Regions from separate parts of the Homo sapiens genome. Here all the other regions are linked to region 3. Evidence: promoter capture Hi-C in 16 types of primary human blood cells and fetal thymus (Javierre and others, 2016). All regions are on one chromosome and are shown on one strand. Each heading gives the region's core, a stretch centred on a gene start or on the middle of the fragment in contact. The rest is flanking DNA. Distances are from core to core; before and after follow the strand shown.

Region 1 (2,908 bases), core at 1-2,500, 840 kb before region 3:
TTACAGGCTTAATATATAACCCCAGAAATCTATTAAAATTATTATTAGAGGCCTTATCTTTTTAGAAATGAAAAACATGCTATGTCACCATTTAATTTCAACACTAGATGATATACACTTAATATGTACTATTAACTTACACAGTCTGGAACTTTCAGTCCTCTTACAGTTACGTACAGTGTTGATGGGTAATGATTTCTTGGACATTTTGACCACCATTCAAATGCCTCAACAACACTTAATGGGGATCGAGGCTTAGTAGGTGGGTAATATAGCTGCAAGCGAAGTTTTGAGTTGATGTTTGCATTTCCATTGGCTCCCAGAAGCTTAAAATAAGAATTCATATAAAATGTTACCTTCATTGAAAATAAATATATCCAATAAAGCAATAGCATAAAGTCAGAAACATTTTTAAAAGATTAATATGGCATGCTGAAATTTCTTAGTTTTAAAAAGCAAAGAACATTAAATAGTTAGTTAAGCACACTTCCAGATCATTTTTGACAAAAGGTAGCCCAAATGGCTTTTAAAATATTTTCCTGATAGCTCTCTTTTCACGTGTACAACAATTTCAGACTGTCGGTACAGCATTTACATTACTGTGCCAGATTTCACGCTGAACAAAGGAAGTGATCAATACACATGTTTGAAATAATTATGATAAAGACTAAACTGTATATTTACACAAGACACAAATCTTCCATTTGTTTAATATCAGTATTTTTAATGGTTAAAATTTTATGTTTTAAATTTTTAAAAAGTTAAAATCATTTCAAGATAATTAAACTCATTCAAGCCATTCGTTACATTTTTTTCAGTATTTTAGTATATCTTCTTTCAAAGGTCTATTTTTAAAACCCTATTAAACAAAACTTATATTTAAGCTAACTAAATGGAGGTTTTTGTCTCTTTTTTTGGGCAGAATCTCGCTCTGTTATCCAGGCCGGAGTGCAGTGGCAAAATCTTGGCTCACTGCAATTTCCACCTCCTCTGGGTTCAAGTGATTCTTGTGCCTCAGCCTCCCGAGTAGCTAGGATTACAGGTGCATGCCACCACACCTGGTTGATTTTTGTGTTTTTAGTATAGTCAGAGGTTTTGCCATGTTGGTCAGGCTGGTCTTGAACTCCTGGCCTCAGGTGATCTGCCCACCTCGGCCTCCCAAAGTGTTGGGATTACAGTTGTGAGCCACCACGCCTGGCCCTAAATGGAGATTTTTATGAGAAACATAAAAATCTTACCAACTCAGAATACGTTCTCTTTCATTAGACCATGACTCAAAATAGGAAATGAAACGTCTTTCTAACCTTTATGTCTTCTGCAAATTAGGAGCAGAAAGATAGTTTGAACCCTTTGCAACAGTTCACACAAAACATGAAGTATCTTAAATTAGAAGAATAAGCACTGAGTGCCCGGAAGGTATTTAACAACTGTTACTTGTAGACTCATGTAACTTAATATCTTAAATTAGAAGAATAGGCACTGAGTGCAGGGAACACATTTAACAACTGTTACTTGTAGACTTATGTAACTTGGAAAGTAAAAAAAAACAAAGAGGCAAGAAAGGCTCTAAGATAGTATTGTCCAAGAGAGCTTTCTATAATGATGGGAATACTCTAACCAATTTGTGCTAACCAATACGGAATCCACATGTGGCTACCCTGCACTTGAAGTATGGCTAGCACAAATGTGAAAGTAAATTTTTAATTATATTTAATTTGAATTCAAACAGCCATGTGACTTGTAGCTACCAAAACAGTGTAACTCTAAGTTCGTAAATCTGGGAGAGTGGACAGATGGTGGTACCACCAATTGAAGTGGCAGAGAGAGTAGCACGGATACTCAGTTTGGAGGAATCTGACATATCTATAAGTCATCCAAGCTGAAATGTCCAGCAGGTGACTGAATTTACAAATCTGAAGCACAGGTGAGAAAAGTGGTTCCAAGAAAAGTGGGTTAAAGATGAAACCATGAGTAAGACTGATATTAAGGAGGTAGGTAGAAGACCATGAAGGAAACTCAAAGAATGGTATAAGAAAAATTAGGAGAGGATGGTGTCAAGAAAACCAAGGTAACAGAGTTTCAAGAGTGTGATATGTTAAATGCATAGATGTGACAAAATAACTAAAAAATGTTCAATATATTTAGCAAACAGAAATCACTAGTGATTTGGTTGGAGAAGCTTTAGTGGCAGAGGCAAAATTCAGAACGTTGTTCAGGAATGATAAGTTAAGGAATGATGCATCAACAAGGAAAAAGAGATGGCAAAATATAGCCCATCTTTTCCCCTACCCCTTTAGGAAAGAATGTAAAGACAATGGAGGTTATAAGCTGAGCGGGTGACATTGTGATTAGTGTCAAATGACACACAGGGGTAAAGAACCATTCCCAATTGAGTAATAGATATGTTCAGTCATTAAATCATAAGCACTCGAGACTCCCTTGATAAACTCTCCTACAGCTCCCCAAAGCTTATCACGGTAATTTTAAAAAGATATTCCCCAGCTTCTAAATCATACTTTCCATAGATTAATTTAAACAGGCAATTTAGTTTACATTAATACGTTGCTTAGCCTGAGTAAACAACTAAGATTCAGCCAAGACCCTGCCATTATGGTTATAAATTATATAATGTAGAGCTCAGATAAATAAGGCTTTATTACTTTTTAGTTTAAAAGAATAGCCACATATATGTACTAAAAGAACTGAAAGTACCTGAGAATCTGAGGCATAGCTGAGAATTAGGATAAAGTCTCATTTGAATTACTGTAATAACTTAACAATTATCCAAGACATCCCTCGTACCAACAGGATAGGTAATAAAAGATTTAAATTTTAATTGTCTTCATGCCACTTCCCTTTTTTTTTGAGATGGAGTCTCACTCTGTCACCCAGGCTGGAGTGCAGTGGT
Region 2 (3,260 bases), core at 598-3,097, 640 kb before region 3:
GAGAAGAGGGCCACCGTCCAGACCCCAGAATGGTAGATCCACCAACGGCTTGCACCATGTGTCTGGAAAAGCCACAGACATTCAACACCAGACCATGAAAGCAGCTGGGAGGGAGGCTGTACCCTGCAAAGCCACAGGGGCAGAGCTGCCCAAGACCATGGGAACCCACCTCTTGCATCAATGTGACCTAGATATGAGCCATGGAGTCAAAGGAGATCATTTTGGAGCTCTAAGATTTGACCACCCCGCTGGATTTTGGACCTGCATGGGGCCTGTAGCCCCTTTGTTTTAGCCCATTTCTCCCATTTGGAATGGCTGTATTTACCCAATGCTTATACCTCCATTGTATCTAAAAAGTAACTAACATGCTTTTGATTTTACAGGCTCATAGGCAGAAGGGACTTGCCTTGTCTCAGATGAGACATTGCACTGTGGACTTCTGAGTTAATACTGAAGTGAGTTAAGACTTTGGGGGACTGTTGGGAAGGCATTACTGGTTTTCAAATGTGAGGACATGAGATTTGGGAGGGGCCAAGGGTGGAATGATATGGTTTGGCTCTGTGTCGCCACCCAAATCTCATCTTGAATTCCCACATGTTGTGAGAGGGACCCAGTGGGAGGTAATTGAATCATGGGGGCAGGTCTTCCCCATGCTGTTCTCGTGATAGTGAATAAGTCTCACAAGATCTGATGATATTATAAGGGGAGTTTCCCTGCACAAGCTTTCTCTTTTTGCCTGCTGCCATCCATGTAAGATGTGACTTGCTCCTCCTTGCCTTCTACCATGATTGTGAGGCTTCCTCAGCCGTGTGGAACTGTAAGTCCATTAAACCTCTTTCTTCTGTAAATTGCCCAGTCTCAGGTCTGTCTTTATCAGTAGTGTTAGAGCAGTCTAATACGTGCACATAAAAACAGAGTGTCAAAATATGTAAGCAAAAACTGATACAAGTGCAAGGAGAAATAGTTAAATCCAGTATTATTATTGGAGATTTTAACACACCCCTCTATTAGAAATGGACAGGTCCAGTAGGCAAGAAGATCAGTAACAACAGAGTTGAACTCAACAACACCATCAATCAACTGGTTATAATGGATATCTATTGACTACTTCATCTAACAACAGCAGAATACACATTCTTCCAAGCTTACATGGAACATTCACCAGTATAGAACATATTCTGGGCCAAAAAACACATACCTTAACAAATTTGAAGGAATAGGAATCATACAATCAATGTCTTCTCTCAGACTGCAATAAAATTAAACTAGAAATCAAAAACAGGTAGTTGGAAAATCCCCACATACTTAGAGATTAAACAACATACTTCTAAGTAACACATAGGTCAAAGAAGAAATCTCAAGATAAAATTTTAAATACTTTGAACTAAATGAAAATGAAAACACAACTTATGAAAACTTGTGGGATGCAGCAAACATCTCACAAGTTTTTAAAATGCGTAAAGGGAAATATACACAGTAGTACTTCCTCATTTGCAGTTTTACTTTTTGTGGTTTCAGTTATCTGTGGTCAACTACAGTCTGAAAATATTAAGTGAAAAATTCCAAAAATAAACAATTCTTAAGTTTTAAATTGAATACTGTTCTGAGTAGCATGATAAAATCTCTTGCCTTCCCACTTCATCCCCTATGAGATGTAAATCCTCCTTTGTTCACCTTATATACATTCACTACCTGGCCATTAGTCATTTAGTAGCAGTCTTTTTTTTTTTTGAGACAGGGTCTCACTCTGTCACACAGGCTGGAGTGCAGTGGCACTGTCTTGGCTTACTGCAACCTCTACCTCCTGTGTTCAAGTAATTCTCCTGCCTCAGCTCTGCCCCCCTCCCCCCAGCCCCCCACCGTCCCTGAGTAGCTGGGATTACAGGCAGGCCACCATGCCTGGCTAACTTTCGTATTTTTTGGCAGAGGCGGGGTTTCACCATGTGAGCCAGGCTGGTCTCGAATTTCTGGCCTCAAGTGATCTGCCTACCTCAGCCTCCTGGAGTGTTGGGAATACAGGCGTGAGCAGTCTTGGTTATTAGATTGACTATTGTGATATGACCGTGCTTGTGTTCAAGTAACCCTTATTTTACTTAATGGCTCCAAAGCACAAAAGTAGAAATGCTGGCAATTCAGATATGAAGGAAGCCATAAAGTACTTCCTTTAAGTGAAAAGGTGAACATTCTTGACTTAATAAGAAAAGAAAAAAATTATATGCTGAACTTGCTAACATCTACGGTAAAAATGAATCTTCTATCCACGATATTGTGAAGAAGGATAAAAAAATTCATGCTAGTTTTGTTGTCACACCTCATGCTGCAAAAGTATGGCCACTGTAAGTGCCTAGTTAAGATGAAAAAAGCGTTACATTTTGTGGCTGGAAGACAGAAATAGAAACATATTCTGATTTACAGCATTTAGGCTGGGTACTATCCAAGGTTTCAGGCATCCACTGGAAGTCTTGGAACATAGCGCCTGTGGATAAGGGGAAACTACTGTAGTATTGAATGCATATATTAGGAAAGCAGAAAGATCTAAAATCAATCATGCAAGCTTTTACCATAGAAAACTAGAGAAAGGGCAAATTAATCCAAAGTAAGCACAAGAAACAATAAATATTAGAGTAGAAATTAAAGAAATTGAAATAGGAAATCAATAGGGAAAATTTTTGAAACCAAAAGCTGGGTCTTTGAAAAGATAACAAAACTGATAAGCTTCTAGCCAGGCTAGGAAAAAGAAGGGCACAAATTACTACTTTTGGAAGGAGGAGATTTCACTTCAGAGCCCATGGACATTGGAAGGATAATAAAGGAATACTATGAATAATTCTGTGCCCACAAATTTGATAACCTAGGGGAAATAGATGAATTTCTTGAAAAATAAAATCTGATAAAACTCACACAAGAAGAAATAGACAATCCAGATAGGCCTAGATCTATTAAAGGAATGGAATTAATAATTAATAACCTTCCAAAACAGAAACCATGAGACCCTGATCAGTTCACTAGTAAATTCTACCAAATACTTAAGGAACAAATTATATCAATTCTCTACAGTCTTTTCTAAAATATAGAGGCATATGGAATATTTACTAACTCATTCTATGAGGCCAGCTTCACCATAATGTCAAAATCAGACAAAAACATTATGAGAAAAGATCAATATTTCTTATGAATATAGACACAAAAGTCCTCAACAAAATATTAGCAGACTGAATCAAGCAATGTATAAAAATAATTATATTCCATGACTAAGTGGG
Region 3 (3,255 bases), core at 255-2,754:
CCCGCCGAGGGGCCACTTTTTCCCTCCCATCAAATTACCTATCCTGAATTGGTCATGATCAAACAAAAATACAAAAGCCTTGTAGCAGTTTTTCCTACGTAAAGGTTATTTACTGCCTGAACAGTATCCTAACCATTCCAACTAAAGTCGAACTGAAATGAGAATTCACAAGAGGAACAAGAAATTTTGTTTTGCTTTGTAACACCAAAAAATTTAAAAGAGGCTGTTGCAGTGAGGTACAAGTCTGAAGTAGCTCATCTTTTTCGTCAGTGTTAGCCACACTTGCTTTCAACTTCAGTCTTAATTTGTTTCCAGTTCTAAAATGCTTTTTAAAAAAGTCTGAGGTAGCAAAGTAGCTGCTGGTACTTCAGCTTGATTCTGAAGAAATAAATCTTAAAAGCGAATCAAGCCAACTCATGAATTTAAAATGAAGGCAAAGTCCAATTCGCCACTCCCACCCATTTCTCACACCAGCTGTCCACCAATCGTGGCTGCAACATTTCTGACACGACTAAATGGGCTGAATCACTTGAAAAGACTCGGCTTCGCTAGTACTCATGAAGAACCGCACTTTCAGCCGGATGGGGCAGGGCCACGCTCAGAACCACCAGCTAAGACCCAATCCTCTCGCTAGGGAACCGTAACTAGGCAACCAGCACCAGTCAACAGCGCGCGCTCGCTTCAAAACAGCAGGTTGCCGCGGGTACCGAAATTAACTCCAGAGAACCAGGGTCAGCAGCGAGAGGCAGAACAGAGCACTAAAACCTAGTAGCATCACAAAAACGAGGCATTAACTGACGGGTGGTCTGAAGCCGGAGGGCAGTTTTAAAGACCACGCGAAAAGGGGTAGACCTACTCAACGCACTTTGCTGCGGGTCACAGTTATTTTCTCAAAACCCCACAGGCCACGAAGAAAGGTGGCAGTCCCAGCCAATGAGAGGCGGACACAAGTTGCACCTCCAGCGGCCGTCGGCGCCATAGGCGGGGGAGAGAAAAATGAACGAGCGCGCGTGCGCGGAGCGTTCAGTCGGGCGCGCGCAGAGGTACGGGCTGAAGAAATGGGGGAAGGGTGGAAGAGGAAGATATGCGCACGCGCACGGGAGGCCGCGCGGGCTGTGGGTCTCCAGGCAGGTTCGCAAACACGCGCGCGCCCGCCGTTAGCACTGCTCAGCGCCCCCGCCCGGCCTTTTCGGCCCGTAGTGCCTCGAAAACCTGAGAGAAGCTAACGAAAAAACGCATAAATAACGGCGCAACGTCTCCTTGGTTCTCCTTTCGCCGCCAACCCGACACCACCCACAAAAGAGTCAAAAATATGGCCTGTCCTCGGTCTTCACTGCCCCTGGAGTAACTTGAATACATTGCGAGGCCTACCTGACACGCCGAATCGCGGTTCCGGGAATTTATCTCCGTTGCAACCACACAGCGGCCATTTCCCGACTCAAGAACGCGAGGAAAACCATAGAGCTACCTTCGACGCGCTAGCACGTCTCCGTCACTTCCGATCTGGGGCGTGGCCTCGGGTGCCGCTAAATATGCGGGCAAGCCCCGCCCACCCTTCCGCTCCGGTCCGGCTTCCTGGCTGCTATTAAGATGTTGCCTGCGGCCTTCTGGGAAGTCGCGTGGCTGGTCTCGCGGGAAGATGTGACGGCTCCGCCCTCTGGCCCGTAGCGTCAGCCTTGGCCGGAGAGGCGGTAGAGTAGGGTGGGTGTTTTGTCAGGCCTGAGTTAGCTTCGCCATACGGCGCTTTTCGCTGGTGTCTCTGCCTCGTTCTGAGTAGACCCCCTAGACCTCACCGCCGCCCCTGCGTTTTACCTCAGTAAGCTCGTCTGGTCTGTTCTTTCTGTGGGGCCGGCTCAGACCAGGCAAAAAACAAAAAGACAATCCCACACTGAGGAAAAGACCAGGAGGCAAGACGTGGCTGTAATTGCAGACACGCTGCTCCCTCAGCCAGCAAGCGCCACTTTTCCTCTTGGACGCCTAACTGGAGATTAGAAAATGTGGCTTTTGGTTTGCTATTAAATTCGGCAGACGCACTTAGTTGAAAAATGGCCACGATCTAAATCCCTTTCGTGGCGTCTGATCAAATCGGAGCTCAAGCCGCAGCAGCCGGAAACCTCTTAGGCTGCTCGTGCCAAAGAAGGCCGCCCTTCTGGCGGCGTGATGACAGCTTTACCACATCGGCAACGTTGGCATAGGCATGAAAAAATAAAGAGCACGAAGCAGTTGAGCTTTCAGCCTGTGACGATGATTTGTGGCAGCCGAGGAACACAGCCCAACGTAGCTTGGTTGTCCAGAATTATAAGTCAGATTATAAATAGGCAAGCCACATTCGATTTGAATAGAATTTAAATAACAGCCGTAGCACATTTTGCATTAATACTTCTCCGGGCTGCACTTTCTTAGGGCCTAAAACCGCTATTGCTTTGATGTTTAGAGATGTTAACTACCTTGATGGATTTCAGACTTGTAATTAGCAACCAGGGTGTCAGTGAGTGAATCGAAACTAGGATTGGGCCCTGGTTGTGAATTTAACACTGTGCTTAGAGCATTCTTTCTTCACAGTCCAGTTTACCAGCTGAACTAGAAAAACGACAACATTTTCATGGAGTGAATCGTAGGTTTTTTATTGTACAGTCTGTCCCTCACCCCATTACCACCTCAGGATGTGGACACAGAAATCCTTGGCCTTTTTGTTGTGCCCTGATGTCCCAAGCATTCGCAGGTTCTCAGAAATATTTGTTGAGTGAATGAACTATATTTAAAAAAAAAACAACTAAGGGCTCAATACACGTCTGCTATTCTGCATGTATTGGGAGTCGGGGCGCTCCCAATACATGCTGTTATTCATTTATTCAAAATACCCCAAATTGCAGGCTAGGATATTATCTTCGACCTCCCTCTGCAATTCTATTGCACATGTGTTGAAAATGAAGTATCTATTTGAGGCAATATAACTGATTATGATTTTATTTACATAACATGAGGTAGTAACAAAGGAGATCCTTTGGAACAAAGCCTTTAGTAAGTGGAAGTTATACAGACTTCCCTTGAAATAGATCCATTTGATACGTGATGCTTTCCCAATCTACAAAGTAGGAGGTTCTTGAATTTAGATGTTTTATGCACATTCTTATTTTCAAAACCTGAAATTCCACCATTACAGATTCATTCTTTGTAATAAATTTTTTTCCTATTAAAATACAAACGCCGAAAAGAGCAGAGGAAAAAAGAGCCCATTTAACAAATGAGCATTGC
Region 4 (2,903 bases), core at 1-2,500, 860 kb before region 3:
AGTGGTGCACTGAATGTTCCAAATCATTAATCTTGACATAGGTATTCCAAACAACAATCACCCCTGTACAATCTCCTGAATACATATGATGACCTATTTAAAAAAATAAGATCACTCACTTATGAATGTCACACAGAGTTAGAAACAAATAATAGGAAATCGGGGGAAACTATACCCCAGTAAAACAGTCAAAGAATTGAAGGGCTATTAAAAGGTATTTCAGTTTAAAAAAGCCAAAAATCAAAATGTAACTCACAAACAAACCCCAATTATCTTTAAATGAATTCTTTACTCTTTTAAATTATTTTTGATGACTTCTTTCCCTTTTTCACTTACCTGAATTTAACTATAAAAAGAAATGAGCCTCTCAGTACATGTGTATATGGCTTATATTCCAAAGCCAAATAATTTGAACCATCCGACATGTAACATTATTTCTCATCTTTATTAACCCATAAATCTGTTTTGGATTCCTAGAAAAATACCTATATTCTAATATGCACCAGTTTAACATCAATTCTTTGGAGTCAAATAATCTTAAAATTGAAAGACCTCAGAGACCATTAAGTTCAACTTCATACCCACTCAGGAATATCTCAAACACCACCACTAACAGATGGCTGTTCAGCAACTGTGAATTCAGTATTTTATAAAACAGCTATTCAACTGGTGAACTGCTTCCTGTATTAAAATATTCTTTCTAATTCTGAACAAAGAAAATCTATCTTCTACAGCTTTGGCCCACCTCTACCCACTGGAGTAACATGGACCAATTTCCTTTTTTTTTTTTTTTTGCACATTTGGATATCGTATGGCCAAATAGTTGAAGAAAGTCTTTATGTCTCTTTTATAATCTCAACTACTGCTATTATGACAGAGTTAGTTTTCAGATACCTTTCTATTCAGAGTCTTTCCTGAATATGTTCCAAATTTATTAACATCCCTACAGCTGAACTGAGTAAATCAGCAGTATTATCCTTTTGATCTGGATCCCATACCAATTAATTATAGCGCTAGCCTACATGCCCAGTCTCTGAAATTATGTAAAAAGTGACTATTTAATAGATACAATAAATTTCTTCATTCTTTCAGATAATAAAATGATTTACGTTTTACATCTTTAAAACATACTACATTATTCTTTTTTTTGAGATGGAGTCTCACTCTGTCGCCCAGGCTGGAGTGCAGTGGCGCGATCTCAGCTTACTGCAACCTCTACCTCCAGGGTTCAAGCGATTCTCCTGTCCCAGCCTCCCAAGTAGCTGGGACTACAGGTGCATGCCACCACACCCGGCTAATTTTTTGTATTTTTAGTAGAGATGGTGTTTCACCGTGTTAGCCAGGATGGTCTTGATCTCCTGACCTTGTGATCAACCCACCTCAGCCTCCCAAAGTGCTGGGATTACAGGCACGAACCACCGCGCCCGGCCACCATATTATTCTTATATCAAGATAAAACTTTAAATAATTGCAAATTTCCCTTCTATATGTTTGCAAATTTTAAGGTTCTTGAAGAAAAAGTAAGAATGATAATCACCAGTTCAAAGAAATATATTTATGCAATTTGGCACATGACTGGTTGTTATAGCAAAGATTAATTGAATCTAAATGTTTAAGAATTTAAAAACTTAAAAATTACAAACAGAAGTCCCTTAGTGTCATATCTATCATATGACCTGCAAAATAAGCATAAACCTAAATATGCGCAATCATCAGTACATAACCCTCTCAAGCCTAAATAACTATTATTCTGGTAAAAAAAAATTCTTCACATAGCTGGTCTTCATTCATAGTCTCTGACATACCTTCAGTATCAAAACAAAGTGAGTTGATAAAACTTTTGTGAACATCAAACTGTCGGACCAATATGGCAGAATCTTCTCTCATCTCAACTTTCCATATCCGTATCATGGAATCATAGCATCCTGTAACTACTAGCTCTCTTACAGCTGGATGGAATTTAGCCGTGTAAACAAAAGAAGGATGAGGTAAAACTCTGAAAGTATTTGTATTGTTTATTTCATTTTTCCATATCCTGGAAAAGGATAAGAAGTTACATATTGCTTCTGAAAAGCAGAAGTTTCTTTTAACAGTTTTTCTAAGAACCAACACAGCCAATGAACCTTAAGCAAGCAAGTGACAACGACCAATGGTAAACCAAGTTTTAAAACAATGAAAAATATAATGATGATCTCATATTTGATGACTGGAATTTTCACATGTGACAAAGTTATTTGTTATAGTTATTATCCAGCATATTATATCCACTAATTGTAATCTATACTATAAAATTAATAACTTTTTAAAACCTACCTATTTTGCTGTTGGTTAAACACACATTGAACAGTTGGTAAAATATTGCATTTAGTACAATATACATAAAAAATATATAGGGAGAAACTTTAATGATTTCCCATTTAGGTTGTGTATACCACTTTTACAAAGTGTTTATTAATGGGGGTTTAGAGAATAGAATAGTCTATTAACTTTTATATTTGTAATTTCAAAGCCTAGATAGTAAAAATGAAGATCTCAAAGATTTAAGAGATACTAAAATTATTATATTTTGAATTCTCAAGTAAAATAAGATTAAAATAATTATGACATTTTGATAGAAAAGACTATCCTACATTAAGCACGTTCTTTTTGTTTAACACTCATTATCCTGTCCTCTAAATAATGGCTAACTAAAAAAAATTAAGATTATTATCACTGCTACAGTCTTGACAAATGAGTAAACCCTTAAGGGTTAACCTCTTAGATACTCTGCATTTCTAACAATGTATAAAACTAGGTGAAATCTACCAATATACAGGTGCTATATAAGTGTGAAGCATTGGATTTTTAAATATATTTTGTTAAATTATCAAAATTAGAAGAACATATTAATTTTAAATATGGGA
Region 5 (3,200 bases), core at 493-2,992, 770 kb before region 3:
CTTTCTGTCCTTTTTATTCTTTATTGATTTTGTGTATTTCTCTCTCTTGCTCTTTCTCTCTCTCTTTCTCCATATATATGGAGAAACACACACACACATACACATATAAAGTATATATAACAACAAATATATATACATACACACATATATATAAAATATACATAACAACAAATATAAAATATGTGTGTATATATGTAAATATATATAATAATTGTGTATGTGAATGTGTGTGTGTGTGTGTATGTATCCTTTATAACCACTTACTGGGTTATTAGGAATAAAATAATATAAATGTGTGTGGTTAGTCCACAATCTTGACTTTCACATATATAGTTTATTTCAAAAGAATTTTTACTAGGTAATCTCTGAATAAAATCAAATTAAGCTAAAGTCTGGGAAAGTACAGAACAAATAAGTTAGGTTATGTAAAAGAGCTTAATTTAATTAGCAGTTTATGTATCTCTCCTCTCTCTTGCTCTCTCTCTCTCTCTCTAGCTCTCGCCTCTTAATATTTTTCAACCTGTTCTGTCATGATTCCACAAATATTCAAGTCCTTCATGTTTCCAGGGTAACAGTAAGTATTCGGCAGTTTATCTGACACCTTCCATTTAAGATAGGAAAAAAATAATAGAAAGAAAATGTCATTAATGTATGCAAGGCTGACCATTATGACATTTGGCTGTCTGTTATCTTTACAAATACGTTCTCTTCTTTCCCATGTTTCTGGTTGCAACTTTCTGACCAGTGATAGGAATAGGTGGCATATATGCTACCCACTTCTCCAACTTGCTCTTGTCCGTGATTACTAATTGGTTATATAATTCATTTTCGGTAAGCCTGGATATAGGTTCAAAATTATTTTCTATACAATATTAAGGAGGCATAACAATTTATTGGAGCTGGCATGTAAATTGAAAATTGCTTGCTGTTTATGCTCCAAACTTTCTACCTCACAGATCTCATGACTCGAATATATTTTACCACTACAGTTTTCTCCCATAGTTATAATTTTGTCATTGCTTCTGCTCTAACCAAGCAGTTAGAGAAGGCAGTACAATATAGTCAAAAGAGCACTAGATTGGGTGCAAAAAAGCTTGAGTTTTTGTTCTATATTAATTACTTGTGTTATAGTGGATAAATTATTTATCCTTCTAGATCTCAGTTTTCTTGCTAAGGCAATAAGGCAATTGGACTATGGTAATTCCTAAGATACTTAACAACTCTAAAAACTTTTAATATCCAGCAGCCAACTAGATATTTCCACTTAAACGTTACATCATTACCCAAAATTCAACCCATCAAAAAATCTTAATTCAATGCCCTAAAAACATCTTTGCCCCTTAGGTTTGGTATTTCTCGTACTTTGCACTCTAAATTCAAAATCTTTTAGTCATGTTTACTTCTCATCTTTTATTTACCTTCTATAGTTTATCTATTACCAAGTACTATAAATTCTTCCTTAAAAAGGCCTTTGGCTCTATCCATTACTTTATATATCAGCTCTCACTACTCTGACTCAAGAATTTATGTTCCCAATAAACTTGACCTTTCACTTCCCTTGTTAGCCTTATTTCTAGATATTTTATCTGTTTTTGTGGCAATTGTGAATGGGATTGCCTCTCTGATTTGTCTCTAGGCTTGGCTGTTGTTGATATAAAGGAATGCAGCTAACCAGGGAGATGGAAAATCTCTACAGTGAGAGCCACAAAACACTTCTCAAAGAAATCAGAGATGACACAGACAAATGGAAAAACATTACATGCTTATGGATAGGAAGAATCAATATCATTAAAATGGCCATACTGCCCAAAGCAATTTACAGATTGAATGTTATTTCTATCAAACTACCAATGACATTTTTCACAGAACTAGAAAGAACTATTTTAAAATTCATATGGAACCAAAAAAGAGTCTGAATAGCCAAGGTAACCCTAAGCAAAAAGAACAAAGCTGGAGACATCCCAGTATTTGACTTCAAACTATACTACAGGACTACGGTAACCAAAACAGCATGGTACTTTTTTACAAAAGGAGACACATAGACCAATGGAACAGAATAGAGAGCCCAGAAATAATGCCAGACACCTACAACCACATGATCTTTGACAAAGCTGACAAAAACTAGCAATGGGGAAAAAGCTCCCTCTTCAGTAAATGGTGCTGTGATAACTGGCTAGCCATATACAGAAGATTGAAACTGGACCCCTGCTTTACACCATGTAAAAAACTCAGCCCATGATGAATCAAATACTTAAATGTAAAACTCAAAACTATAAAAACCCTGGAAGATATCCTAAGCAATACCACTCTGGTCAGAGCAACAAGCAAAAATTTCATGAAGACACCAAAAGCAATTGCAACACAAGCAAAAATTGACAAATAGGATCTAGTTAAGCTTAAGAGATTCTGCACAGCCAAAAAAAAAAAAAAAAAAAACTATCAGCAGAGTGAACAGACAACCTACAGAATGGGAGAAAATATTTGCAAACTATGCATATTACAAAGGTCTAATATCCAGCATCTATAAGGAACTTAAACAAAATTACAAGAGAAAAACAACCCTATTAAAAAGTGAGCAAAGGACATGACCAGATACTTTGAAAAAGAAGACATACTTGCGGCCAACAAGCATATGAAAAAAGCTTGATATCACCGATCATTAGAGAAGTGCAAATGAAAACCACAATATCATCTCATACCAGTCAGAATGGCTATTACTAAAAAATAAAAATAAAAAGATGCTGGCAAGGTTGTGGAGGAAAGGGAACACTTATACACTTGGTGAGCGTGTAAATTAGTTCAATGATTGTGGAAACCAGTATGGCGATTCCTCAAAATCCTAAAAGCAGAACTACCATTGTGCCCAGGGATCCCATTATTGAATATCTACCCAGAGGAATATAAATTATTCTGCCATAAAGACACATGCATGCAAATGTTTATTGCAGCACTATTCACAATAGCAAAGACATGGAATCAACCTAAATGCCCATCAGTGGTAGACTGGATAAAGAAAATATGGTGCATACATATAAACAAATATTATGCAGTCATAAAAAAGAACAAGATCATGTATTTTGTGGGAATACTGAATAATCCTTACTGTCCCATGAAGTAGGTTCTAATTATAGATAAGAAAACTGAGATACAGGGAAACTGAGCAAGTTGCCCATGATAGCTAGTAATGGATGGAGACATAA
Region 6 (3,103 bases), core at 492-2,991, 800 kb before region 3:
TTCCCATCAAAAAAATTTTTAACTGATACATAATAGTTGTACATATTTTGGGGGTACATGTGATATTCTGACACCATATACAGTGTATAATAATCAAATCAGAGCATCTGAGATACCCATTACTCCAAGCATTTATCTTTTATGTTGGGAACATAAATCTTCTCTTCTGGCTATTTTGAAATATACAATAAATTATTAACTGTAATTTCCCTACTGTAATACTGACTACTAGAACTTATTCCTTCTAACTATATTTTTGTACTCCTTAACCAACTTCTCTTCATCCCTTCCTCTAAGATCTTAAGATGTTCTATTCTTAAATTCTTAACTTTGATTCATATCTAGAAATGGTACTACATCTTTAATAAATCTTAAATCTTTTTTTTTTTCCAGGGAGGGAACACTGATATTTCTCTAATAATGCACATATGTTTACAACTACCATCACAAATGACTGACAACTTAGGTGACCAGATTCCTCAGGCTACAATTTTTCTCTTAGTGCTCTAAATATTTCTCCATTGTCTTTTGGATTTAGTGTTTTTACAGAGAAGTCTCAAATGTACTATATGTTTTTGTGTTTAGGTGTCTGCAATATTTGACTCTTAAGATACAAACAAAAGAATTTTCTAGATATAGTTCTCATCTCATAAATTTTGCCTGGAATGCAGGATGACTCATCTCTTCAGAAATCTCAGCAAGGTTTCTTCATCATGCTCATTATTGTTTCTGCTCCACTAGTACTGTCCCGGGATACTTATTTGTGGGTCAAATATCTTTCTATGTCCTCATCATTTATTTCTTTCATTTTAGTTTTGGTCATTTCTTCCCACCTCGAATTTGTCTCCCACTTCACTGATTAGATTTTTCCGTAGTGTCAATTCCATCATTTTAGGCCTGAGATATAGTTTTAAGGAAGCAACTGAAGAACATGAACTTTAAAATTGCAGAGACTGTGGTCTTAAATCCCACTTATCCTATTTTAGACTAAATGACCTAAGGAAATCACCTAACATGTCTGTTTGTCTGTTTATAAAATTTCTCATGTGCAAAAAAAGAATCCCAATATCTATCTTGCATGATTAACATGAGATTTAGAAATAATATTTGTAAAACTCTTATTATTGTGCCTTATATATAACTGGAATATAAGATGAACCTGCCATTATTATGAATCCCTATTTTGACTTTTTTCCTCGCTTAATTTTATTTCAGACTGCTCCATTTCTCATCTCAGCCTGTTCTGTACATAGGACTCCCTGTTCTTCTTTCAAGAAGAAGTCCTATCTTTTCAAATTTCATTAAAATAGATAATATTGGGTTGTGGTTAAGGCAGTGGATTCTGCACTTCCACTCAGTGTTTGAATCCTGGTTCTACCATTTACTATGTAACTTTCAGCAAGTTACTTAACTTCTGATGTAGTTTTCTCCTGTACAGAAATAAAACCCTGTAATTTCGTCGTTTGTATTAAACGACTAAATATATATAAAGTGTTTAGAAGAGTGCCTAAAGATAGAAAGCATTAAGGCATCTAGCAAATGAAAGCAGCTATTCCTCTTTTACTTCCTCAAGTTAATCATGTCAAAAATATTTTGTTCTCCTCTAAGTCCTTTAGAAATATTCCTGTTCTTTTGAGCTGCGAAATATCTTCCCAAATATTTGTTCCTAGTGTACTTATTTCTGAAAGAAAAGAAGCCTATTCAGTCCTGGTGTTTGCAAAGAGAGGCTGGATAAATTATGCTTAGTCACCTCACACTTATGTGCCCCTCAACATTTAAACTGGACCTTAGGTAAATGGACATAGCCTCTGCCTATTCTGATTATCCATTTAATTTAAACCTTGGTCTAAATTGCATTTTGTTCATGGCTCACAACTCCCAGTTCTTTAATACTAAGAGACAATATGAGGTTCTTCTCTGAGCATAAAACATCTCTGCAGACAACTGTTTCCAGGGTTCTTTTTGCTTTTGCCCAACATAAACCACTCCATCTGAGGGGAGCGCATATATCAATAAGCAATGTTTCATCCTCCATGTCACTATTCCCTACCATATTGTGCACTAGTACCACCAGAAAAAGCACATGCTATTTCAGAGCAGCAATCACTATGGGAGTGCTAATCTGTCCATTCTGTCAGTAGTTCGAAATTTTTGTGCAGTCGTACACCAGTGTATACACTATGAACCCTCACATATGTGCAGCTGGATTTTGGTCAATTTTACTACTTGTTTTTGCCTCACTTCAGAATTTATATTGTTACATTGACATCTGCCAGACAGAATACTAAAATGAACAGGTCTTAAGAAAAAATGGGGTAAATCTTACTACAAGCAAAATGTAGGATTATAACTCATTATAAAACTCCTGCCAAAAAAAAAAAAAAAACTATGTACCATTTACACAAGAGCCTGTTTATTTTTTTCTGTGAGGACAGAAGAGATAATGGTCAAAGTAGTAAAAAGTGCAACTCAAGTAGGGAGATAGGTATAAAGAGGGCATAGAGCATTAACTGTGGATGCCAATACAGACTCTTTATGATTCCAAGGGGATCAGGTTGTAGTTAGTTGCTGATTTGCTTAGTCTTTGAGCACTGTATTTTTAATTCCTTCAAGTGTGCTGCCAAAGATTCTATCATTTGAAAGTGTGCCTCAAACATAAAAGGATAATTATTACCATACGGCCATTGATTTCTCCTGGTTCTGTTGGGTAGAATCACACAGAAATAGTTTAAATAAGCACAAGCTATTCAATATCTGAAGTTAAGATACTACTTCCTAAGTTCTTCACAATTCTGGGTTAAAAATATTTTCTTCAAAAATGTTATCATGGCTAGTTTTGAGTTTCCCCACTATCTCTGGTCATTTTCCCCACTGTGTGTGTGTTCTTCCTGTAGGACAGCACTCAAGAATGAAGTCAATATTCTCACAGTGATGTTGATTCTAATATAAACTTTATTTTTACCACATGTTATTGACCATGACATAGTGTTACTGTTTTTAATTTTCAAAATTCCTTAGAATTTTAACATAAAATGCAGCCATATCTGCATTTTATGCGCATATGTAAATCACTATTACCCAATGATCATTTACTTACTGAGAT
Region 7 (3,374 bases), core at 617-3,116, 740 kb before region 3:
AGGAAACAACAGACACTGGGGTCTACTTGAAGGGGGAGGGTAGGAGGAGGAAGAGAAGAAGAAAAGATAACTATTGGGTACTCTGTTTAATACCTGGGTGGTGTAATAATATGTACAACAAACCCCTATGACATATGTATATCTATGTAACAAACCTTCACATATACCCCAAAACTAAAATAAAAATTAAAAAAATTAAAAAAATTAAAATTCATGAAAAAAAAAGTGACACCCAACACTTCCTAACCCATGTCACTGCTTTATTTTTCTATTTTCTTCATTCATTCATTCATAAGTTCCATGAGAGCAGGGCTTTTTCTCTTTTGTTTTCTGCTACAGGAACAGTAAGTGCCTAGAACAATAAGTGGTGATTAAGAACTAGCTCCTTGCTGAATAAATGAAAGAATATGTGTATTATCCCAAACCATAATGTTTCTTGGTGTCAGTAACACTGGGAGTGGGCACTGACCACGTGGTCCACATGCAGAATATGCACAGCTATCCTCGCTGGTGACCTTCTTGCTTTGTGGATGTCAAAGAAAGTAGACAGCTATATGGACTCTGCCACCTGGATAACTCTAGAGGTGAGTGGTAGGGGTTATGAACAGCACTGAGGAGCTGGGAGTGGCTGTTTGTTGGGTTTCTAGCTTCAGGACAAGTTCTATGAGTTTCCTGAGCCCTCATGATCTAAAACTATGAAGCATGATGGTGCTGGGGTGAATACTCATTGTGTTGCTTGCTCGGTACTCACTATCCTAACTTTGTTCTGAAGGACCCATTTCTCCCTCACTCTGTGTGTTTCAAGTAAAATATGTACTGAAGAAAATGCCACCTATTTTTATAAATACTGTGAACTAAGAATGATTTTTATATTTTTAAGTGGCTTCAACAAAAATCAAAATAATAATATCTAAATTTCAGTGCCCATAAAGTTTTATTGTAACTTAGCCATGCTAATCCATTTATGCATGGCTGCTTTTGCTCTACAATGGTGGAGGTCAGTAGTTGTGACAGAGACCATGTGGCCTGCAAAGCCATAAATATTTACTATCTGGTCCTCTATGGCAAAAGTTTGCCAGCCTCCACCTCAGACTGTCGCTGTGGTTAGAGTCCTATGATCACAGTGGGTGGTTCAGCACAAGACCCAGGTTTAAACGTCTGGTCTTTTCTTTGAACTACTTGGGAAGCTAGCTCTAGCTAGCTAGCTAGCTAGCTAGCTCTTCTGCTGCCTCAGGTGAGAAACTGAGGATGTCAGGAAGCATCAGGCAGCCCCTAAGGATGAGGTCGTAATCAAGCTTGATTGAAACCATTCCAACTCTAGAATTTTCAGCTGTGCCAATCAATACATTTTCTTTAATCTTAAATTAGCTAGCATTTTAAGATCTTTGTTGCTTACAGCCAAAGAAACTTAACTGATAAAGTCATTTGGAAGAAATCCTACTCCAGGTATACAGGGAACAGAATTAATGAGTTCCCAAGATGATTGCCTTATGGTGGCAACAGCAGTTGCCTGGCAGAAGATAGGAAATCTGTCTTAATAGTGCCTTCTAGGACCCAAATTTGTCCTGCTCTGGTAGAAATCCTAGAAGATCAGGAATACAGGAGATGCAATTAGTGTTTAGGATCTTCATTTAACAGCACACATCTGTGTCTTCCCTTGGCATAAATACTGGGAGAATGCAGTACTCAGGATTTTTATATCCTCTTATTGGAATTACCCACATAATATATGATTTATTGCCTATAGACTTCTCAATTTCTATGTACACAATAGCAGCACTACCATATTTTTTAATTCAAATGAAATGCATGAAGATGTTTGGGTAGAAGTAATAGAAAAGTTTAGTAATGAATAATGTTTCATTATTCTGTCTATTTTCTGAACATCAGTCATTATCAAATATAGACTCATAATCAAATAATAATACATACACCTACAATATTTTGATTATGATGTTTTTAGAAACATACATCTCTTTTCCCTCCTACTGATTAATCTCCTTGCTGTTTAAGCAGCAAAGCTGCTTTCCACTCAGTATCTCAGGGAAAGGATATGACATGGTAGACAACAGAAAACAAATGAAACAACTCCCCCACACTCCCCAAATTCAGGAAACTTCCTGGCAAAAAGCTCACTCCTTTAGGACAATAGAGAGTCTCTGGGTAGAGCCAAATTATATAAGAGAAACATCAAGGGTGACTGTTGCTTTCGCCTTCTGGAGAGGAAAAGATTCCCAGGGGTTTATATAGAAAAGGAAGGGGAAAAGAGGGAACAGGGAGGATGTGGTGGCAGTGCGTTTGGATGGGTTTCAAAGAGGGAGCCCCAGTTCCATCAAGGACCTTGGAGCCCCTGGAGGCTTCTCCCTCGGGTTCTGTGGGGCCAAGGAGAGGCGTCCCCTCAATCCCACCTGGATTCCCTGCTGGATCAGCCCTAGAAGGAAGCTTCCTGGGGCTGCTCCCACTTCTGCTTAAGTGTGGCTACACCGTGGAGGGTGGGTCCTTAGGAATGTGGCAAGGGCAGCAAGATTGAGGGGGCCATAGTGGTGCGGGCATGTGGAGGGGGCACAGGCTTTGGCCCGCGGGCCTGTGTTCCTATCCCTCCCTCTGTCGTTCCCTGTGACCAATGGGCGGAGGGCCCATTCTTGGCAGAAACCCAGGGAAGTGGCAAAATTCCCAGACAGTGTTGTGAGAGCAGTAGAATGTTCACAACCTCCTACCCTTGCCCTAGCATCAGGGTTTGACAGAAAAATTAGATTGAATGAAATAAAAATATTTCTCACCCACTTGCGTTCATGGATGGAGATTGATGACCTTCTAGGTCAGACACATTTGTTTCCATTAGTGTGGAAAATCAAGAGTTGACTTCACTCCTCAGTTCTTCCAAGGGTGACAGTTAAATTTTGGCTGCACACCAGCAGCCAATGGCATGCAAGTGTTAGAGCAGGTTATCTGCATTTCATGTGCTGGATTTTGCTTCACTGCAATGCACTATTGTTCATTTTGAAGAACTGCTTTTTCTTCATTTGATTATGAAGTCCATTCTTCACTGAGAAAGGGTGAATCACTGGGTTTCATTATGGAGCTCTTGAAGTTCAGGGAGAGCGATTTTCATACTAAGTTCATTTTCTTTAACATATAACCAGTGAAATAATAGAACAAAAATACATTTATCTTTTATAATTGTTTCCCTCCTCTAAGACATAACAGTATTAACATAACAGCTATACTGCATAATTCTTCTTCAACCAAAGAACAAGAAGATTAATCTATTCTATTTATTTATAAAATCTCCTGATATTTCTGATACTGGTTTTTCCCGTCATTCACCTGGTGGAAAAAGCAAGGTGGGGAAATAAACGATGGTGACAGCTTTT

Evidence for each region. The method cuts DNA at HindIII sites, captures the fragments that hold promoters and counts their contacts. A CHiCAGO score of 5 or more calls a contact.
Region 1: a fragment that was not itself captured here is called in contact with the fragment with the promoter of BCLAF1 in region 3 in 11 of 17 cell types (naive B cells, fetal thymus, monocytes and 8 more); the score reaches 10.0 in naive B cells.
Region 2: a contact is called between a fragment that was not itself captured here and the fragment with the promoter of BCLAF1 in region 3, in 1 of 17 cell types (naive B cells). The highest score is 5.8, in naive B cells.
Region 4: a fragment that was not itself captured here is called in contact with the fragment with the promoter of BCLAF1 in region 3 in 1 of 17 cell types (fetal thymus); the score reaches 5.7 in fetal thymus.
Region 5: a contact is called between a fragment that was not itself captured here and the fragment with the promoter of BCLAF1 in region 3, in 12 of 17 cell types (endothelial precursors, fetal thymus, M2 macrophages and 9 more). The highest score is 9.2, in endothelial precursors.
Region 6: a contact is called between a fragment that was not itself captured here and the fragment with the promoter of BCLAF1 in region 3, in 10 of 17 cell types (non-activated CD4 T cells, total CD4 T cells, fetal thymus and 7 more). The highest score is 8.6, in non-activated CD4 T cells.
Region 7: a contact is called between a fragment that was not itself captured here and the fragment with the promoter of BCLAF1 in region 3, in 1 of 17 cell types (fetal thymus). The highest score is 5.4, in fetal thymus.

The regions. Positions count from the first base shown.
Region 1 is chr6:135,448,150-135,451,057 of GRCh38, forward strand. AHI1 (Abelson helper integration site 1) reads right to left here. Exons shown (of 29, transcript NM_001134831.2): 12 at 141-326. Among named protein-coding and RNA genes, the nearest start is that of AHI1, 48 kb to the right of the region's middle. The HindIII fragment of the contact is 1,853 bases long and covers 325-2,177 here.
Region 2 is chr6:135,650,655-135,653,914 of GRCh38, forward strand. The region is part of intron 3 of AHI1-DT (AHI1 divergent transcript); the gene reads left to right. Among named protein-coding and RNA genes, the nearest start is that of LINC02524, 18 kb to the left of the region's middle. The HindIII fragment of the contact is 1,410 bases long and covers 1,143-2,552 here.
Region 3 is chr6:136,288,342-136,291,596 of GRCh38, forward strand. It overlaps BCLAF1 (BCL2 associated transcription factor 1), which reads right to left and starts at 1,505. Exons shown (of 13, transcript NM_014739.3): 1 at 1,372-1,505. LOC124901408 (a long non-coding RNA gene) reads left to right here and starts at 1,673. Exons shown (of 4, transcript XR_007059784.1): 1 at 1,673-1,816. RefSeq lists enhancers at 299-895, 421-540, 896-1,492, 911-1,030, 977-2,176 and 2 more. The HindIII fragment of the contact is 10,003 bases long and covers 1-3,255 here.
Region 4 is chr6:135,431,222-135,434,124 of GRCh38, forward strand. AHI1 (Abelson helper integration site 1) reads right to left here. Exons shown (of 29, transcript NM_001134831.2): 16 at 1,806-2,035; 17 at 1-93. Among named protein-coding and RNA genes, the nearest start is that of AHI1, 65 kb to the right of the region's middle. The HindIII fragment of the contact is 4,268 bases long and covers 1-2,903 here.
Region 5 is chr6:135,515,245-135,518,444 of GRCh38, forward strand. The region is part of intron 2 of AHI1-DT (AHI1 divergent transcript); the gene reads left to right. Among named protein-coding and RNA genes, the nearest start is that of AHI1-DT, 19 kb to the left of the region's middle. The HindIII fragment of the contact is 1,302 bases long and covers 1,092-2,393 here.
Region 6 is chr6:135,487,526-135,490,628 of GRCh38, forward strand. It overlaps AHI1 (Abelson helper integration site 1), which reads right to left. Exons shown (of 29, transcript NM_001134831.2): 5 at 3,098-3,103. Among named protein-coding and RNA genes, the nearest start is that of AHI1, 8.7 kb to the right of the region's middle. The HindIII fragment of the contact is 4,311 bases long and covers 1-3,103 here.
Region 7 is chr6:135,544,290-135,547,663 of GRCh38, forward strand. The region is part of intron 2 of AHI1-DT (AHI1 divergent transcript); the gene reads left to right. Among named protein-coding and RNA genes, the nearest start is that of AHI1-DT, 48 kb to the left of the region's middle. The HindIII fragment of the contact is 1,147 bases long and covers 1,294-2,440 here.